Linked DNA regions of Homo sapiens: all the other regions are linked to region 1. The links are contacts of gene promoters, found by promoter capture Hi-C in human tissues and cell types (Jung and others, 2019). All regions are on one chromosome and are shown on one strand. The core of a region is centred on a gene start or on the middle of the fragment in contact, and the rest is flanking DNA. Distances in the headings are between cores, read along the strand shown.

Evidence for each region. Contacts are between HindIII fragments. The study calls those that stand out against the background at their distance.
Region 2: a fragment that was not itself captured here is called in contact with the fragment with the promoter of ASTN2 in region 1 in 3 of the 25 tissues and cell types used here (H1 embryonic stem cells, mesenchymal stem cells and neural progenitor cells).
Region 3: a contact is called between a fragment that was not itself captured here and the fragment with the promoter of ASTN2 in region 1, in 2 of the 25 tissues and cell types used here (dorsolateral prefrontal cortex and mesenchymal stem cells).
Region 4: a fragment that was not itself captured here is called in contact with the fragment with the promoter of ASTN2 in region 1 in 2 of the 25 tissues and cell types used here (H1 embryonic stem cells and lymphoblastoid cells).

The regions. Positions count from the first base shown.
Region 1 is chr9:117,412,620-117,417,935 of GRCh38, reverse strand. ASTN2 (astrotactin 2) reads left to right here and starts at 2,879. Exons shown (of 23, transcript NM_001365068.1): 1 at 2,879-3,439. The coding sequence starts at 2,998. The HindIII fragment of the contact is 9,596 bases long and covers 1-5,316 here.
Region 2 is chr9:116,784,443-116,789,758 of GRCh38, reverse strand. The region is part of intron 13 of ASTN2 (astrotactin 2); the gene reads left to right. Among named protein-coding and RNA genes, the nearest start is that of TRIM32, 100 kb to the right of the region's middle. The HindIII fragment of the contact is 6,664 bases long and covers 1-5,316 here.
Region 3 is chr9:116,802,275-116,807,590 of GRCh38, reverse strand. It overlaps ASTN2 (astrotactin 2), which reads left to right. Exons shown (of 23, transcript NM_001365068.1): 13 at 1,771-1,959. Among named protein-coding and RNA genes, the nearest start is that of TRIM32, 120 kb to the right of the region's middle. The HindIII fragment of the contact is 5,964 bases long and covers 129-5,316 here.
Region 4 is chr9:116,893,879-116,899,194 of GRCh38, reverse strand. The region is part of intron 10 of ASTN2 (astrotactin 2); the gene reads left to right. Among named protein-coding and RNA genes, the nearest start is that of TRIM32, 210 kb to the right of the region's middle. The HindIII fragment of the contact is 3,508 bases long and covers 1,225-4,732 here.

The DNA of each region.
Region 1 (5,316 bases), core at 1,630-4,129:
CTCCAGAAAGGCATGGGATCTGGGTTTAAAGTGCATGAAGTCAAGAGCACCACTCCAAATCATAGCACAGAACTGTATGGGTGAAGATATGTTTCAGCTGCAGCCAAGCATAAATAAAAGGCACTTCACACTGTTGACATTGATATCACTGGGCTCCAAACAGTGCTATTAGAACCTTTTCGACTAGCAGAGACACCTGGATGTAACTGCCCCAACTATTGCCCTTTTAGCCGCCACTGGATTCTGCCTGATTCCGGCTTATTTTTCAGCATCTGGGGTGGGTGAATCTAACTGGTGAAGCCTGGGTCATGTGCCCAAGCTCTAGCTGCAGTGGAGGCTGAGAAAGTATCCAGAAATGTTAGCTTCTTCATGGGAGGTGGGCTGTGCCTTAAAAGATAAAACATTCTCTGATGTAGGAAAGGGATTTATTCATTTACTAAGCAGTTGCAAAGAATGCCAAATGCCAACTTTAACCTAGAATGCCCACTCCCTTGTTACTAATCTTTATGGTTCAATTCCAAAGCCACCGCCTCTGGGAAGCTTTCTTTGATTTCTCCAAGTACCTCATCTTAGGAAACACATGTCTGCCTGCCTGCCCATTACCTGAGATATTTATGTGCCTGTCTCTTTCCGGCATCCCACCCCCTCACCCCAATCATTATAAGCTTTCCAAAGGCAGGAGTTGTGTTTATCCATCCCTGCATCTCCATATAGCACCTGGTAGGCACCCTGAATATTTGGTGATGAATGAATGAATGAATGAAAGTGTTGGTCTCATTTGACAGGCCTTTGTACTAGAGGTCCATGAAGGACTTGCACAGACTCTGCCTTACATAAGGGAGCCCTTTTTTCCTGGTGTGCTCTTCTGTAAATGGACTATGTCAGCATATTTGAAGAAAGGGGCATAGAGAATCAGAAAGCCCCATTGCGGTGGATAGTGGCGGATTGTAAGGACACAAAGGAGAGACTGAGGGAGGCAGGGTGACATATTTTGGAGGAGTAAATGAACTAGAGCAGGCATCAGAGAGGCAGGAGACCATTTAGAATTAGAGGACTTGAAAGGCCAGATTCCACCCCAACCTCCACACATCCTTTGGGTTCACAGATTAGTAAACTGAGACAGGAGAAGTATACCTTACAAACCTCACAGGGAAGTAGATCCAACTGTGCTTATGCAGATTTACCTTTTACAGCATCTTTGATGGGTGGGGTTTTCCAAGGTCACTGAGGACAGTGTAATTTAAGGGAAACAGTCAAGGCTTGAAGCCTACTGTTCAAACCTCAGCTCTTCAGCTCATTTGCTATACGACCTTGGAAAATCCCTTCACCTCCCTGACCACCTGATCTCAGTTTCCTCACATGGAAAATGGGAATCATAATATCCATCTTTTTGGATTATGGTCATGTAAAAAAGCTAACATACGTACATGTCTAGCATTTGGAGAATGCTTTAAACACATTAAGTCCAAGGTCGCAAAACAGCTTTTGCTTTTTTCCTTATTTTCAGTGCTCTGCCTTTATCCAACGTTATTAAAAAATATATGATGAGAGAGGAGAAAAGCAATTTATATGAAGGGTTAAAGATAGAAAAGGGGAATGAGACAGAAGAGGGAAGAGCTAAGAGAAAAGTGAATGCATAGAGACAGCACAAAAGGTGCAGATGGGTAAGCTAGACAGAGATGAGAAGTTGCTCACAAATTATAGGAAAGAAGCATTTGTAAGATTAAAGTCAAGATGAGAAGGAAGGAAATGAATGGAGAGATGAAACAGAAAACAGAGACAGGGAAGATGAAGAAAAGTAGGGGAGTGGGGAAGGGGCTGCACGGCACTTGACCCATGCAGAGGTGTCCGCTCCCTGGAGGGTCTCAGGTATGTGGGTCAGAGACAGAGTCAGCCCAAGACCAAAGGGTGCTGAATCTGAGGACCTAGCTCAACTTGAGTCTAGAAAGACTGCAGGTGAAGAATTGGTGAGCACTCCCGTTCTCTGGGACTTGGGCAGAGGATCTAAAAGACCCGGGAGCCAAGGACAGACAGAATAGTAGGTCTCTACCTCACACCCTTTTCAGGAATTTCACACAGAGAGCAGAAGCAGCCAAGTAGAGCTGCTCCAAGCTGGGAGCAGGGATCCAAAATAAAAAAGCGTGAGTGGGCTGGCTTGCAGGGCGGCAGCTAGGGGGCCAGAACAGCCCGGCTTCAGTCAGTTGTGGGGTCGGCGTTAGACGGTGGAGTTCGACGCCCCTCTGTCCATTAGCAATTAGTGCTAGCACAAGGCCTGGATGGAGGGGAGAGGAAGGTTTGCGGGCAGTGGGAGAATGAATGCAGGAGTTGTGGCCAAGTGGGTGGGAAGGGGGCTCTGAGGCTACAGGAAGTTATTTCAGAGACTAGAAAAGGGTAGGAGATTGGAGAAAGGACTTGTTCTTGGGCCTGAGGGGAGACAAAGTTAAGTCTTGGCTATCCAGGGGGCTCCCTATCCCCAAGAAGGCGGGGCCTTGAGCAAGGCTGGGCCAAGGCGCGCCCCCAGGTGCAGCCTCTGGGTTGAGCCGAAGGTGGGGTGAAGCCAGGAGAACTGGGTTGAGTCAGGGGGGCTTGGGGGGGCCCGAGGGGGCCCTAAGTATTAGGAATTTGGGGAGTTTAGGGAGGGGTGTTGTGGCTAAAGAATGCTGTGAGGGCGGAATTGGGGGATCTTGGGAAAGGGGAGGGAGCCACTGGGACTTGCACGAGGCCGGGCGGAGCCTCCGAAACGCTCGGGGTCTGCGGGGGGAGCCGGAGATCGGGGACGGGCGGCTGGGCCCCGGGAGGCGGCGCGGGGGGGCGGTCCAGGGCCGATCGGGAGGCGGAGCCCGGAGCTGGGGGCTGCTGGCGAGCGGCTCTCTCCGCTCCTTAGCTCGGGCGTCCTGGTTCGCTTCGGCGTCCGCCGTCTCCGCAGCTGCCTCCTCTTCCTCCTTCGCCACCGCCGCCACCGCCGCCGCCGCCCGCAGCACCGCAGCCCCTCCCGCCATGGCCGCCGCCGGCGCCCGGCTCAGCCCCGGCCCCGGCTCGGGGCTCCGGGGGCGGCCGAGGCTCTGCTTCCACCCGGGGCCGCCGCCACTGCTGCCGCTGCTGCTGCTGTTCCTGCTCCTGCTGCCGCCGCCGCCGCTGCTGGCCGGCGCCACCGCCGCTGCCTCGCGGGAGCCCGACAGCCCGTGCCGGCTGAAGACCGTCACGGTGTCCACACTGCCCGCCCTGCGGGAGAGCGACATCGGCTGGAGCGGCGCCCGCGCCGGGGCCGGGGCTGGGACCGGGGCCGGAGCCGCCGCCGCCGCCGCGTCCCCGGGCTCTCCTGGCTCTGCCGGCACCGCCGCCGAGTCGCGCCTCCTGCTCTTTGTGCGTAACGAGCTGCCGGGGCGCATCGCGGTGCAGGACGACCTGGACAACACCGAGCTGCCCTTCTTCACCCTGGGTAAGGCTGGGCGCCGGCACGCGCTAGATCCCAAGGAACCCCGAGCCCCTGCGTCATGCCGGACGGGTGGGGGCGCCCTGGGGATCCCTGCCCGGGGCTGCCCCGAGTGGGGTTGGCAGAGGGTAGAGGAGGGGCCCAGAGGTCGCACAGGTGGTTGGAAACGAGCATGTGGGAGGAGGTCCTGGAGAGCGCGCGGCGGGAGCCTGGGGGCGTGCCAACCCTCCCGCAGTGGGAACCTGCCCCTCTGCCTCTCAGTCCCGACCTGGAGCTCTGCTTGATCCATCCCGGAAGCCGGAGACCCCATTCACTGAAGGTGCTCTGGCTAGGGGCCGGAGCATCCCAGATCCTAAGCCAGTTTCAGGTCGAGCCTCCCACTTCTCCGGGTACCGTCACTGGCCACCCGCCGTCACCGCCCCCTCGCTCTCGCCTCGGAGTTGCGGGTTCTGCCCTTCCAGATGGATTTTCATGAGAGTAGGAATGGAGTAGTTCCGTGTGGAATCGCTCAACCCGCAAAAGCGTGGCTTCCGCATGGGCTGAGTGACCTTGGCCAAGTCGCTTCCCTTCTCTGAGCCTCAGTTCTGGCCATCTGTGAAATAGGGCTGGAGAGACTTGAGTGGTTGCTGAGAACTGGGATTCCGACTCCGAGGTCTCCACGTTTAGAGCCTCCCTCTACCCCCGTTACCGCCTTCCCTTTCTACCCACCTCCAGGCAGAGAGCCGGTTTGTCCTTGCAGCTCACTCCCTGGGCTAATAATAATTACTTAAAGGCAAGAAAAAGGAGAGGAGAGGAGATGGGTGTGGGTGGGGGGCTCCAACGGAAAAGTTAATCAGAAAAGTTCGCCAGCAGCTTGCTGCCTGCTGGTTCCCTGCGCGAATCCCGGAGGAGTCGGCCCTTCAGTGGAGCTGTGGGAAGCGCAGCTGATTTCCCACCCGGGTAATTGATAGCTTAATTATCTCGGAGAGCGTTTACAAAAATGTTGTTCCCCTTAGCTCTCCCGCGCTCGCTGCTTGCTCGCTCTCCCCTCCCCTCTTGGGGGCGCGGGGCCTTATTGGTTGTCGGAGTCTGGCCAACAACAGCGCCCGTGAGGCGCCAGGGGCTCGCCCAGACCCGGAGCTCTTCTTCCCCGGGTCTTTTCCTCGGCGGGATCCGCCTCGGGCACCGCAGGTGAGGGGCCTTCCAGGTGAGAACCTTTACGATCCCTGAACTTCCGAGGTTAACTCCTTGCTCGCCTGAAAAGACCCACAGAATAATCAGCGGACTACGCTCCACTCTCCTGGTAGCCCTGATATTGTTAAAAGTATTTTTGTGACCCACTCCCCATCCTTTCATGCTACCACCTCTGGGGATTTGAGCGAGTGCCAGTGGTTCTCCCGCTCTGAGCTTGAACCTCGGGGGTCGAGCCCCTGTACCCACCCTCGCAGGCTGTAACCTGAGCGTGCCGAGCGTTCCGGGAGGAGAGGCAGCGGAGCGTCCTGCAGGTTCCTCGGGGACTCCCCGCGGCGGCGCTTCTGGGGTGCGACGCACCAAGCACACACACACAGACACACACAAACCAGTAGCTCTTCCCACGTGCACCTGTGGGGCTGCCCATGTCCGAGAAAGGGAAGGAGGGTGGAGGTGGTGTTCCTTAGAGCGCCGCCGGACTAACCTCAGGCTCACAGCTGGCTCTTGCCACCTCCCCGTGGGGAAGGGTCTTTCTAGAGACACAGAAGGTATCCCTTCACTACCACTTCCATTCCTGACCTTCTCCCTTCATCCTTTAGATCTCTCTACTCCGGGGTACTCTGAGAGATGAGGGGTGGAAATCCTCCCGCCCCCCAAACGGCCATTCAAGTGAAGGGATGAGACGGTCCTTGGGTATGGCCTGACTTGGCAGT
Region 2 (5,316 bases), core at 2,083-4,582, 630 kb after region 1:
CAGCATTACTTTCTTTGTATTCCTTCCAGATAAATGAAACAGTAAGTCTATTCTAAGGTCACATTAATAAGCCCACACATGTGTATCAAGAAAATTAACTTTTAAGGAAATAGTTTTATTTCAAAGAGATGCCCTGAATTGAAATGTATGTAGTAACAGTTCTAATGAAAGATATGATCACAGTTTATTGGATGTGAATTTATACAGAAAGCTCCAAGGGCAGTGGCTGGGGTTTTATGTAACATCACTACTGAATAATTACTATTAATGATAATCTAGTGGAACACCTCAAAGGTGGCTTTTAAGAGTCCAAAATGAGCATTTATTTTTTTATGTTGCCTGAGATCCTCAGAGGAGCCCATTAAGTGGACAGTTAATTAGCAGGCACAAGCCAGGAGTCAAAGCTACAGGCATTTGAGTAGCCCAGGGCTGGTTAATTCATTGTATGCCTGAGGACTTTGAAAGAACCTTAAACCCTGAGTCAGCCTCTTCATTCTTTACTGAGTTCCCAGTGACCTTGAGGCTGCTTCCCTTTCTTTTTGATGCTTTCTAGTGTAGGAGGAAAGAAAGACGATGAAGTGATTGTTCTTACTTGTCATGCCGTGGTTCAGAGAACTAAAGTTGCTCTAAAGGATATCCCTGTAAGTTTCGATTAATTCCCTACTTCTTAGGAGTTAGTGAGGACCCAGCCACTGGGAATAAACAAGCCCAGAGACCATATAGGCATTTTGCAGCTGTATTTGCAAAGAAGGTGGAAACACAGCTTGAGAATTAAGCTAAATTGCAATTAAATTTGCTTCAGCTTTGTGCTCCAGCCAATCAGTACACATCAAGAGCTTATTATGTGACAGGTTCTGGGGATTCAGGCTGAACAAAACTCGGTCTAATGTTGGTGTAAAGGGAAAGTAATATACTTTTTTATTTTTTGTATTATCTAAGGCTGTGTTCAAACTTGTTTTTTACTGTCACCCCTTGTCATAGAAAAAAAATAGGATTGAATTCTTCTTAATGAGAGAAATTAAATACTAAGGGTCACAGTTTTATTGGGTAGAGTTAGACATTGGAGGACCACAAGCCATTGTATTGTCTAAGACAATTTCTGCGACTACTGAGAATGCATGATGTTAGTGGATTTGCAAGTGTCATTTTATAAATGAGGTAACTGGGTCTCAAAGAGATCTGATGACTTGACTGTCATCACATAGCTGGTGTCAGAGCCTTACTTACTGGATCTTTCTGACACTTGGATGTTCTTTTCCGTATTCCACTCAGATAGGGTTATTTTTAATATATATTTTAATGTACAAATACTACTTCTATATATTTATGAGATAGAATGTGATGTTTTGACATATGTGCTCACTGTGGAATGATTAAATCAAGCTAATAAACATGTTCATCATCTCACATACTTTTTGTGATGAGAATATTAAAAAACTTTTCAAAGCAAATTTTTGAAATATATAATCCATTATTAACGATGGTCACCACACTGAGCAATGGACTAAAACTTGCTCCTCCTGTCTAATCGAAACATTGTACCCTTTGACCAATCTCTCCCTATTCTTCATCTCCCCGCAATTCCTCATCTTCTTCCCACCCCCTGCCTCTGATAACCACCATTCTACTCTCTAATACGAGTTTGACTTTTTAGATTCCACATACAAGTGAGAACATGCAGTATTTGTCTTTCTGTGTTTGGCTTATTTCACTTAGCATGATGTCCTCCAGGTTCAGATAGGATTTTAAAAATATATTTTTTTATTTTAAACAGTTTTAGATTTATAGATAAACCACAAAGATAGTACAGAGAGTTTCCATATACCCTGCAATCAGTTTCCCATAGCATCCTCTTATATTTTTATGGTACATTTGTTATAATTAATAAATCAATATTGATACATTATTATTACCTAAAGTTCATACTTTATTCAGATTTCCTTAGTTTTTATCTGATGTCCTTTTTCTGATACAGGAGCCCATTCAGCATACAGACATCAAAGCAAAATGACACTGGATGATGTTAAACAGGCAAGAAAGACTTTATTCAAGGCTATTGCAATAGAGGAAGGAGAGAGGTCTGAACTCAATTTCACTGAAACTGAAAAGGACAGGAGGGTTTTTAATTGCTGGAGTAAGTGGAAAAGTACTGGAGGACATTAGGAGATTGAACAATAGGATATGTCCAGCACATTGAGTTATTCTTGACTTTGCAAATGTATTTCTCTGTGATTAGGCCATCTGTGTTTGCTAATTGGTGTCCATGGAAGTTGGGCTTCCACCCTTCCACAAAGACTAAGAGATAGGGGTACTGTCTTCCTTGATGATTACATTTCAAAGAAATAGCTCCCACGTCCTTGAGAAAGACAGTCCTAGATTGTAAAACTGGCAAGAAACTTTATAAAAGATTTATGTCTTAAAGGGGCAGAGAAAGAATTTACAATTGCAAGTTTCTAAAGTAAATGCTTTAAGAAAAGGCAGGTCAGGGATCTAGAGACTGGAGAAGCCTGCCTGGTGTTTAGTCAAGCTGATGGGAAGCTTAAGAGCATCTTGGTCACCATCTCACACTGAGTTGTCCATCTCCTTAGCTCCGCTTGGCTGCGACAGTTTGGTAGGCATATGTATTAGTTCATTCTCATGCTACTGTAAGGACATACCCAAGACTGGGTATTTTGTAAAGGAAAGAGGTTTAATGGACTCACAGTTCCCCATGGCTGGGGAGGCCTTAAGAAACTTACAGTCATGGCGGAAGCTACGTCTTCACAGGGCAGCAGGAAAGAGAATGAGTGTCCAGTGAAAGGGGAAGCCCCTTTTAAAACCACCAGCTCTCTTTAGAACTGACTGACTATTATGAGAACAGGATGGGGGAAATGGCCCCCATGACTCAATTATCTTCACCTGGTCTCTCCCAGGACCCATGACTCAATTATCTTCACCTGGTCTCTCCCAGGACCCATGGAGATAATGGGAACCACAATTCAAGATGAGATTTCAGTGGGGACACAGCCAAACCATATCAGCATATTTTTAAACTGATTTCTTTACAGGCATTAAAGTTACAAAGTTTAAAAACACAAACAGTATAAAAGACATTCAATGAGGAATGTCACTCCTTTCTCAGTTTTTTTTCTATCCTTTTCCCCTATCCCCCATTTTTATTAGTTTCTTGGGTATCTCTCCAGTATTTAGGTAGTAGTGATTGTAGTAACAAGAGTAACAAGTAACAGTAGTGATTGTAGTAATAAGAGTAACCAGATAACAATGACACACTGCACCAGACACTATTGTATCTTCACTCTATCAAAAATATTTTTTGAGCACTTATTCTATGACACTGACTGTTCTAGGAAACCAGGAAGACAATAGTGAACAAAATATATAAAAACCCCTGCTCTGAAGGTTTATATTCTAGTGTAGGGGACAATCAACAAATAAATATACACCCTGTCAGGTACATACACTGTGGAGAAAAGCAGGTTGAGTTAAGGGTACTAGAGGGTTTTAGGCAGGGGATTCTATGTTTTACAGGCTGGAAGACTTACTTGACAAGGTGACGTTTGTATAAAGATCTGAAACAAGGCAGTGAACTATGCACATATCTGGGGAACAGCTTCCAGGTAGAAGGCACACCGAGTTCAAAGACCCTTGGCATTTTCTGTGGACCAAAAGGAGCCTCGGTGGATAGAACAGAGGGGAAGGAGGCGGGGCAAGTAGTAGGAAAAAAGGTTACAAATAAAGAGGCAATGGGTACCAACTGGGGAAGTATGGGCCATTTTGTATAGGGTCCTGTGGGACTCCTAAATGCAGTAGCTTGAATTTTACTCTGAGTGAGAAGGAAACCAAGCTAGTGCATTATTTGAGCAGAAAAGGTCTATAATCTGACTGGGGTGTGAAGAATAGACGTTAGTGGGCAGGGTGAAATCAGGGAAAGCAGTTCCCAGGCTACTTCTGTGGTCCAGATGTCAGACGACTGTGGATTGGAGCATGTTCAGACAAGTCAGCATGGAGAGAGGTGGGCAGATTCTGTATGTATTCTGAAGGTGGGACAACTAGATTTACTGATGAGGGAGAGAAAGGAGGGAGGCAAGGTTAGTGCCCTGAATTTTGCCTGAGCAGTTGGACAGACGGATGTGCCATTGATGGAGACAGGAAAGCCCACAGGAGGAGCAGGCACAAGGGAGGGGAATAGAAAGAGAAATTTGTTTTTGATAATGTTAAAAGATGAACTTGATTGTGAAACATTGCAATCATTTATACAAGTAGACCATAGTGTGATGGAACCCCAGGCACTCATCATCCGGCGTCAATAGCCATCATCTGGCCATGTCTAATATATATTCTTATGGTGATGTCAGGAAGCCAGTAGGATATACCAGTTCAGAAGAGAAACATGACTTGAAATGTACATTTCAGATTATTTAGCATGTAGATGACAGAAAAGAAATGAGAGGACACAAACTCACTAGGGAGTAGATAGAGAAGAGAGGAGCCTGAGCCCTGAGTCCTGCAGTTTAACATCGGAGAGGTGAAGAGCCACCAGCAAAGGAGACTGAGGATGAGCTCCCAGTGACACAAGAAGAGACCCAGGCAGCAGCTTCACTGTCCAAACGCATTCAGTTCTACAGACACCTAGAGGAGCTGTCAACCTTTTCCCCTCCCTTATTTTTTAACAGATGATGACACTGAATTGTTAAGAGACTGAATAATTTTCTCATTGTCATTTGGCTGGTAAAGGATGGAGACAGGATTGGAATCCAGACAGTCTGGCTCCAAATCCATATTCAAATATCCATTTCTTGCTCCTCTTATTTTTTTTTTTTTTTTTTTTTGAGGCGGAGTTTCACTCTTGTTGCCCAGGCTGGAGTGCAATGGTGCAATCTCAGCTCACCGCAACCTCCACCTCCCTGGTTCAAGTGATTCTCCTGCTTCAGCCTCCCGAGTAACTGGGATCACAGGCATGCGGCACCACGCCTGTCTACTTTTGTATTTTCAGTAGAGACAGGGTTTCTCCATGTTGGTCAGGCTGGTCTCGAACTCCCAACTTCAGGTGATTCACCCACCTCAACTTCCCAAAGTGCTGGGATTACAGGCATGAGCCCCCCAACACAGCCTCTCTCCTCTTTTAACACTTGGTTGGTCACACATTCTGCTCCATTCATATCACAGTGCTAGGCTGAGGGACTCAAAGGTGGGGACAATAGGGGAATGGGAGAATGCCATGAAAACATGCCCATGTTAAAGTTAACTAACAACACAGGACATTGCGTGTGTGATGGAGCACCACATGACCTTAGTCAATAATTCAATACTGTCTAA
Region 3 (5,316 bases), core at 1,861-4,360, 610 kb after region 1:
AAAAGGGACTTAGTAATATTTAACAGATGCAAAAAGAAGGGGATATACTTTACCAAGGCTCTGAGACAGGGCCCTTTTCCAAGAGATTTCCCCACTGTACTATGGAAAGGAACATTTGAACGTTAGAAAGACCATCAGTGCATCAGTGCAGTACGCCAGGGATTAGGGGAAAGCAAGGAAACAGTGACAGTTTGCTTCATGCATGAGACTTCCTGGCTTTTCACTAGAGTGATCTTGGGTCAGGTTTCCAGCTATGCTTGTCTTCTTTCTGCCTCCAGTTCAGCTCTATATCTGTAGCATCAGCTACTGGTTCCCACAACCTGTGTACATTTTCTTTCCAAACCACCATACAGAGCCTCTTCCTTCTCCCATCTGAGTTCCTGAGTCCCTTTGCGGTTAGCTTCAATGAATCTTTGCTACACCCTTTGAAAAAAGGCAAATAAGAGATTGCCTGCTGTTTACTTTCTCAAACTGACATACCAACCAGGGTCATTTTGTGCACATAGAAAGCACTAGATTTGGAGGAGACAAAAATAGACAAACATCCCTTTTTCTAACAGAACTGAATTTGAATATCAACTTTGCTACTTACTCACAGTACTATATGCTTTATTTCTTGGCTCCTTATTTTGCTTATGTGTAAAGCAGAAATTATGATATTACTCTTTCTTTCTTCATGGTTAGATAATAAATACATAAAGTGTTCAGTGAATAGTACATGCTCAATAAATAGAAATAACACCATTACTACCACTATTATGATTATTGTGTTAAGTATATTGCAATTCCTGTTTTTTTTGTGGCCAATGTATCATGTGACCTTATAGCATCCTACTGAATTAAGGTAGAAGTGTCTACTCTATTTTACACATGAGGAAACTGGGGATCATAGAAGTTAAATGACTCACTCATGTTCATATAGGTCACAAGGAGAAAAATGGCATTTGTACAGGTCTGTCCAATCTCACAGACCATTCTCTTGTCTGTCTTATTTATGTGCACCATACTCCTAGTGCTTAGCGCTGAACTTTGAAAAGGTAGACACTCATAGAATTCCAGTTTCTGGAATGATTTTTCAGGGGCTGAGATCTCTGATTTCTTGCCCCAACCATCCCCATCCCCTCCAGCCCATGCCTCTCTGAGATTTGTCACTGCAAATCTTTTCAAATTGCAAATATTGTTTCCACACCTTATTCAGATGCCTGTTTTGTCCATAGATGAGGCCACCCCTGTCTCAAAGGCTTGTCAAGGGCTTTTCTGGCTGTTAGACCAACGGAGGCTGCTAAAATCCCTAAGTGAACAGAAGCCTTGTGCTGTCCATGGTCCTGGAAGGTTTCACCTCTGAGCTACCAGGATGATAAAAACCTTGTATTTGCTACAGTCTTCAACCTTGGTTGACAGATGTACTGGGAATAGATTCTGGTTTGAGACACTAGTTGATGATTCCCTGTGAATTGGTATGTCATGCTTTTTAAAGTCTGTATGTTCATGGGAAACAGTCTTTAAATTTGCTTTGTGTGTGAACGTGCACGCTGGTGTCCCCTTGACTCCTCCAAAATGTCACAAATGACTTTCCTTGAATTTACCAATTTGCAGTATTAATGTGCTTCTCTCTAGACATCTGTGCCCTAGATAGATTCCAGGTAGAATAGCTGTCTCCTTCCTAAACTCTGACCTGTTTTGCAGGGAAAGGAGGCCTTGGTTTTAGGTCACCCCCAATGGGGGCATTCAGGATGTGAAGCTAATTCTGAGCTCTGTTTTATCATACAGTTGCGTGGAGGAGTACAAACTGGCTCCTGATGGAAAATCCTGCTTAATGCTCTCAGATGTCTGCGAGGGCCCCAAGTGCCTCAAACCTGACTCCAAATTCAATGATACCCTCTTTGGAGAGATGCTACATGGTTACAACAACCGGACCCAGCATGTGAACCAAGGCCAAGTCTTCCAGATGACCTTTAGGTATGCTGTAGATACTTGCACATTGCTTGTCTGAGTCACTGACAAACAACCTGGGCACAGGGAGGAAGCCATGGGCACAATGGGGTAGAGACCTGTTATTCTGGCCAGCATCACTTTAAGCTCACAGGTACCCTCTTAAGGAGTGTGGAAAGTCATCAAACTTTATTCCATAAGGTTTCTTTTTCATGGTCCTAGCATATATTTGTCCCACTTTGCCATTTTCCTAGTTCTAGCCCCACATTTTAAATTCAATCTTAAATTATCATATAAGTACAGTTAATGGCATTTTGAAAAACATTAATTAATCTTTCAGTCTACTGAAAAATAAGTATTTTATGCATGCTGTTCAGGCAGTTCAAAAATAAGGACATTTAATGTAGTAGAAAATAAAAATCGCATCACCCAGAAATACCTAGAATTAACATTTTCCTGAATGCTCTTAAAATTTCTACTTCTCTCTTTCTCTCTCTGTTTTTTCCTGTCTGCCTACACACACACACACACACACACACACACACACACTCCCCAAATCCCAGTAAAGCTGTTTAGAAATTGCTTTTTTCACTCAATAGTGAGTGACGGCTAGGTTGGCCAGATTATGTGAGGATTAAAGATGCAAGATATTGGTAAAGGGTTTTTGGACAGTTGAAACTGTTCTGCCTAAAGAAGAGAAACTTTAAGTGGTGACTTACTTATGCCTCAAAGCTTGAAGAACCATAAGCTAGTAGAGTGAGATTTGTTGTATGTATGGAGAAGGATTATCTAAACACACACTCACACACACACACACGTACACACACACATTATACTTTTAACCATGTTTGCATAAAAAAAAAGATATTATCACAAAGCAAGGCTCTCCTAATCATTTGAGGTCATATCAATAAAAGTCAGAACTAGTAATAAGTCACCATTATAATAATCATTGTTTCCATTCCATCATCTTACTAATAGTAGTGATAATTGTATTATGAGTGGTAATAAATGGTTACCATTTATTAATAATTATTCTGTGTCAAGTTCTTTACTACTAACTACTAACAATAATAATGTCCACTAACATTAATTCAGCATACACGAAAGGGTTTTCTAAGTATTTTTTGTCTATTAACTTATGTAATCCTCACAATGATCCTGTGAGGCAGGAGTCATTATCATCCTTTTTATACAGAAGAGAAAGAGAAATCTAGAGTAGCTTTCCAAAGACTCCCTTCTAGGAAGTAGGAGAGCCAAGATAATTTCATTTTAGCTTCATTATTAGAATCACTGGAGGCACTATGACCTCCATTTTACAATTGAGAAATTAATCCAGAGAGGTTGAGTGACTTTCTCAAGATCATCATCTAGTAAGAGGTAGAGTCAGGAATCAGATGTAACTCCAGCTGACTCTAAAACCTTGCTCTTGTATTTCAATTCAGCATACCCTCTTACTCCCATTTTACAGAATGAGAATGGAGATGTGAATTCACTAAAACCGTTCATCCTTGTAATCATCATATACTCTTTGAGAATCTCCTCTTTCTCATATACCATGCTGGTTATTGGGCATAAGATGGAAAAGGAGATAGAAATGGCCCCTCTGACACTTTAGGTATCGTTGGCAGGTGGATCCATGACTCAGTTGCTCAAGCAGAGACTGAATGCTACTTTACTGGAAAAGCTCCGAGCCAGGCATGGTGGCTCACACCTGTAATTCCAACACTTGTGGGAGGCCTAGGTGGGAGGATCACTTGAGCCCAGGAGTTTGAGAACAGCCTAGGTAACTTTGCAAGACTCCATCTCTGCTAACTTTTTTTTTTTTTAAACTGGGCTGGGTGTGGTGGCTCACACCTGTAATCCCAGCACTTTGGGAGGCTGAGGCAGGCGGATCATGAGGTAAGGAGATTGAGACCATCCTGGCTAACACAATGAAACCCCATCGCTACTAAAAATACAAAAAAATAGCCAGGCGTAGTGGCAGGCGCCTGTAGTCCCAGCTACTCAGGAGGCTGAGGCAGGAGAATAGCATGAACCCAGGAGGCGGAGCTTGCAGTGAGCTGAGATTACGCCACTGCACTCCAGCCTGGATGACAGAGTGAGACTCCGTCTAAAAAAAAAAAAAAAAAAAAATATATATATATATATATATATATATATATATATATATATATTATTCGAACTTGGTGGTACATGTCTGTAGTCCCAGCTACTTGGGAGGCTGAAGCAGGACCATCACTTGAGCCTGGCCATTCAAGGTTACAGTGAGCTATGATCATGCCACTGCAATCCAGTCTGGGCAACAGAGTGAACACTTGTCTCTATTTAAAAAAAAAAAAAGAACAAAAATCAGGAAAAGCTCTGGGAAAAATTTAAGGATAGTCTGGATGAATTGCAGTTCAATGCTGAGATTCTACAATACTAGTTTTCTATAATTTTAATGGTCTATGAAAGTGTGTCTTGAGCAACATCATGGATAGAATAATGTTGCTTGGAATACAAAATAAAAAAATAAAGGAATTATTCCTTCTCTTTGAGGAAGAAATTTAAAAGCTTGCAAGATGACACACACAAGTTTTAAAAAAATAGAAAAATTTAATTTGCAAAGCAGTGTTCCAAGGAAAGACGATGGTTTCCAAAGAGTTCCCATGGAAGCCTGTTGAAAGGAATTAGAAGGAAAGATAAAGGGCTTCTCAAAGGACAAAGTTTGTGAACTGAGGTTTGAAGTGATAGCAAAGAATAGTGCCTCTTGGGACAGATAAGAGTTAAAGGGCATTTTCCTGTCCAGGAAGGAGCCTGCAAAGGCCCAGACATATGGATAAGCAAGGGTGGGAGTCAAGAAAACAGACTGCCAATGAACATGCCTTCAAATCCCAGCCCCACCCATGAGAAGCATAATTCTACTGCTTCATCTTTAAAATGGGGTGCTTTTAACAGAAGCCAGCCATTTCCATAGGTACATTGTATGTTTTATGGAGTTTCATTTCTCACAGCAGCTCTCAGAGTGGCTGGCATTTGATAATTGAGCCAATGTACCATTCTGTTGTGTGAAGGATAGCTTGGTCCAAAAGAAGGATCCACATGGGTAGTAAGAGGCTAGATCCTGAACAAACTTCATTAAATCCTGGGATCTCATTTTACATGCAGGGAAAGGACTTGGTCACAAAGCAAGTCATTGTGGGACCAGCCCACGTTCTCAGTTCTCCTGACTGCTTGGAGTGCTTATCTTCCCACGGCCAACAGACTCGTCAGTGAGAAAGAGCATGGCACCGCTGGTTGTGGTGGCTCATGCCTGTCATCCCAGCACTTTGGGAGGCTGAGGCGGGCAGATCATGAGGTCAGGAGATTGAGACCATCCTGGCTAACATGATGAAATGCTGT
Region 4 (5,316 bases), core at 1,729-4,228, 520 kb after region 1:
TTGTGGAATGCCTCCTCATTGATAATCACTGATACCCACAAAGCCAGGTAAAATGGTATATTCATGTGTAGCTGAATGGTTGCTCAGTTCCAATATCAACTGGCACTATAGGAATTAAGAAAACATCAAAACCTTGTTAATACTGAGTCTATTTAATCAAATACCTGATTCCATGGGGGTTAGGCAGGAACCTCAACTTTCAACTCAATAAAGAAATAACACTGCATATGGTAGCTCATGCCTGAAATCCCAGCATTTTAGGAGGTCAAGGCAAGAAAGAGGATCACTTGAGCCCAAGAGTTTGAGACCAGCTAGGGCGATATAGTGAGACCCATCTCTACAAAATATATTTAAAAAAATTAGGCAAGTGTGGTGGCACATGCCTTTAGTCTCACTACTTGGGTGGCTTAAATGGGAGGATTGCTTGAGCCAGGGAGATCAACGCTGCAGTGAGATGTGAACGTGCCACTGCACTCCAACCTGTACAACATAGCGAGACCCTGTCTCAAAAAAATAAAAAACATAAAAGGAATAATTTTTAACACTTTTTTAAAATATGAAAAAACACAGATAAGAGAGCAGGGAATAAACAGGAGATGAATGCAAATTTATGATCCAGACAGAAGACACTACAGGTTGCCCTGTGGTCACTCGGCTTCATGAAGTTGGTCTGTTTTGTCAATCTTGGAACTGAAGAAGTGAAGGCTCTTAGCAGAGAAGTTATTTGCGAAGTAGGTTCACCAGGTCTTTCTGACTCTATTTTCCAAACTCTTTTTTTTTTTTTTGAGACAGGGTCTTGTTCTGTCACCCAGGCTGGAGTGCAGTGGTGTGATCATAGCTCACTGCAGCTGTTGACCTCCAAGGCTAAAGTGATCCTCCCATCTTAGCCACCCGAGTAGCTGAGACCACAAGCATACACCACCATGCTTGGCGCTATTTTTTCTATTTTTTGTAGAGATAGGGTCTCACTATGTTGCCCAGGGTGGTCTCAAACTTCTGCACTCAAGCGATCCTTCCACCTTGGCCTCCCAAAGTGCTGGGATTACAGACACGAGCCAATGCATCCAGCTTCAAACTCCTTCCACATTATCGTGTAGTCTCCTGTGATACTAGGCTACGTACTAGACATTTCTCTCTTTTTTTAAGTTCACTTAAAAATGCATGAATCAATTCTGCTTTCATAAATTAGAACAATATCACTATAACTAAAATCACTCTGACTACCCCATCCACATTTGTCATTGCTAATCTAGTCTTTGTCCCAGCTCTCCCTGCCCAAAAGTAGCCACTCATATAAATGTGATTTTTGGAAAAGTTATTTCCAAAATAACTTTAAATGAGTTTGTGTTGTCACTTCAGTCCTTTAAAAATACTTTTCCAGATATGTAACCTACCCATAGGAATGCTGTAATGTGTGCTTGTTTTTTTTAAATGGTGTCAGACTATATATAACATTCTGCATCTTGATTTTTTTTTTTACTCTCAGCAATATTTTTTGAACTCTGTTCATGGTGACACATATAGATTCAGTTCGTTCCTTTTAAGTGCAGGAGAACATTCCGGCATATGAATATGCCAGTTTTATTCAGCGATGTCCTAACTGAAGAGTATTTAGGTTGTTTTCAGTTTTTTGCTACTACAAACAATGCCTCAGTGATCACTTAGTGCATGTACATCTTTGTGTGTATGTTCAAGCACTTGAAAAGCTCACAGTTAAACGCTAACAAGTGGAATGCTCATCATGTATCATTTTTATCTGTGTGAGAAGCAGTTTCCTAAATGGCCTGTAATCCTTGATTGTGAGTTTGACCATCTGGTTTTCAGAATTACTGGCACTCAGTCTGGGAGGGAATGTGAAGATTCAAGCCTCGCTTTTTAGAGTTAGACCCTGATTGCCCAGAGAGGAGATTGACTTGACAATCGTCACAGAGCACAGAGCTTGATCTTGCAGTCCTTCGCCTGGTATTACCACTTGCCATGTGTCCTTCCCATCTACATTTGGTCCTTGACAGCTGTCACCTGCACCTTCAGTGCGCTGCACCTAAATCTGTCTGCCTGAGGTTATTTTTTTGGGAGCAGGTGGGCAGTGATGATGGCCTTAGGCACAATCCACAGCAAAAGATGAACAGGAGGTTGGTAGAAAAATATGCCACATTTCTTGCCCCTTCACAGAAAGATTCAGGGTTGTATCTTACCCAGTCTCTCAGAGAGACCATAACGAGATCGAGTTCTTGTTGCCCACCTGGTAGCCCCCTCATTAACACACTGATATGGTTTGGCTCTGTGTCCCCACGCAAATCTCATCTCGAATTGTAATCCACATGTGTCAAGGGAGGAAGGTGATTGGATCACTGGGATGGTGTCCCCATGCTGTTCTCATGATGGTAAATGAGTGAGTTCTCATGAGATCTAATGGTCTTATAAATGGCAGTTTTCCCTGCCCTCTTCTCTTACCTGCCACCATGTGAGACGTCCCTGCTTCCCCTTCTGCCATGATTGTAAGTTTCCCAAGACCTCCCCAGCCATGTGGAACTGTGAGTCAATTAAACCTCTTTTTTAATAAATTACCCAGTCTAGGAGGGGCACGGCAGCTCATGCCTGTAATCCCAGCACTTTGGGAGGCTGAGGCAGGCGGATCACCTGAGGTCAAGAGTTTGAGACCATCCTGGCCAACATGGTGAAACCCTGTCTCTACTAAAAACACATAAAATTAGCCAGGCACCTGTAATCCCAGCTACTCTGGAGGCTGAGGCAGGAGGATTGCTTGAACCTGGGAGGCGGAGTAGGCCAAGATAATGCCATTGCACTCCAGCCTGGGCAACAAGAGGGAAACTCCATCTCATAAAAAAATCAAAATAAAAATTTAAAAAATAAATTACCTAGCCTCAGGTATTTCTTTATAGTAGTATGAAAATGAACTAATACATACACCCTTGTTTGCTTTCCTCCATTCCTTGGCTCAATTCTCAGTCCCTCACTTGCTTCCTGGAATCACCTCCCAAATCAACTACTATTACCACATTCCTTAGCTCTGGGTCAGCTCTCATAGAACTCAATCCAAGATTTCATCTATATTCCAGGTTCTGTGCTTGGCAAATAGAATACACTTATGAATAATATGTGATTTTCTGCACTTAACAAGGACACTTAATGACTCAGGTCTTCTGACTATTTGTTTATTTGTTTGTCTTGCCATATCATATCCATGCATTTAAATTCAATGGCATTTATTGTTTTTTAAAAATCAATTGGTCTTCTCACAGTCTGACTAAATGAAGTTTTATTGTAATAACCTAATTCCACTCCCTTTTTTTATGTAAAGACATGACTAAAATAATAATCCTTACACACACATTTTAACTGGAAACTGAGCCACTGCCCCAGTGCTCTATTGGCATCTCCATTTTTCTGATATTTATGTTTCTCCTCCCTCTGCTCTTAGTAAATGTTGATGTTCAGTTCACCCTGATCAGTATTTAGCCCTTCTGGTCAATTTATCTTATTTATTGATCTAAGCAGAAAATCAATACAGTCTTCATTTGCTGTCCTGTTGAATATAGGAGAATTTGATTCTGCAGAAACTATGCCCAGATTACTAAGACCTTGATAGGATACTACTACCAAACTCCTTTCAGAAAGCCTTCCAGGATCCAGTTCTAACTCACATCCTTTGCCCCTGTGCCAAAACCATGACCGCTTCCACTTCCACCCTCTTATGAATAGATACAGAGCATCCCTTTGGTCTCCTAGCAAAGACTTGACCCCTGGTGCTTACTAAGTACAAGTTGAGTATCCCCTTATCTGAAATGCTTGGGACTAGAGAAGTGTTTCAGATTTCTGACTTTTTCAGATTTTGGAATATTTGCATAGACATAAAGAAATATCCTGGAGATGGGACCCAAGTCTAAACATGAAATTCATATGTTTCATATACACCTTATGCATATAGCCTGAAGGGAATTGTATACAATAGTTTTAACAATCCTGTGCATTAAATAAAGTGTGTGTACATTGAACCGGCAGAAAGAAAAGGTATGGAATTTTCCACCTGAGGTGTCATGTCGCACTCAAAAAGTTTCCAATTTTGGAGCATTTCAAATTTCAGATTATTGGATTAGGGATGCTCAATCTGTACAAATAAATGTATTAAGCTTGCTTTCAGAATGTATTGGTTTTCAGAGAATTCTACCAACTCATGGGACCACTTACATAAATGTGCAGGGAGGTAAAATGCCTTTGCAATAAATAAATAACCCAAGAACCTTTTGGAAAATCAGTTGCTTCTACATCATAGTATCTATTGTGGAGCCTTAAATTCATACTGTTTGCAGAGGTTTGGGTGTCAGGAAGACCTTGAATTCTAATCCCATCTCCTCCCCTGATTAAATGAGACATTGCGCAAATAACCTACCCTCTCTGAACTTCTTTACTGACCTACAACATGAGAATAGGCTGGGCATCGGTGGCTCTCGTCTGTAATCATAGCACTTTAGGAGGCCAAGGCAGAAGAATCACTTGAGCCCAGGATCCCAGGAGGCCAGCCCAGGCATGGTGGCACCCACCCGTAGTCCCAGCAACTTGGGAGGTTGAGGCAGGAGGATCGCTTGAGCCTGGGAGGTCAAAGTTGCAGTGAGCCATGTTTATGCAACTGTACTCCAGCCTGGGTGATAGAGTGAGACCCTGTCTCAATAACTAAATAAACAAATAAAATTAGAACAATGGTAATATTTTATCTATCATCAGGATTTTCTCAGAATTACAAATCATGCTGGTCAAACTCATAGTGGGGTACTGGCTCCTATCTTTATGTGATAACTGTCATTTGGCTATTTTTCTCCTTTTCTTTTAAATTGTAATGGAGTCATTGACTTTTTTTTAAATAGGTACTTACAAGTCTTTCAGTCACCATGAAATATCAATTACCATCCACCCTGTCCCTACCTACCACTTCCTTTGAAGAACAAGAATAATGCCCAACTAAACTCTGGGTTCAGGGGCAGAAAGGAGGCCCACATGTTTTTGATCTAGGAACTGGCAAGTAAATGTCTGGGATTTTTTTGGTAGTGGATTCTCCCTCTAACCTGTGCTTGTGCAGGGCAGGACACTAAGAAGGCTCTCAGTCAGTCCTAGAATGGAAGTAGGGAAGGCTAGTCATTGCTTTTCTGCAGATGCTCACTCAAATGAAGTGAAAAGCAAACACCCAGGCCATTGTGTGGCGAGGTAGTCAGTGTGCTAATGGGAAAAATGTGGATGCTCAAGCAGGGTTCTGACCAAGCGTGGGCCTGGGGGCAGACGTTGAGTGTTCAGAAAAGCTTC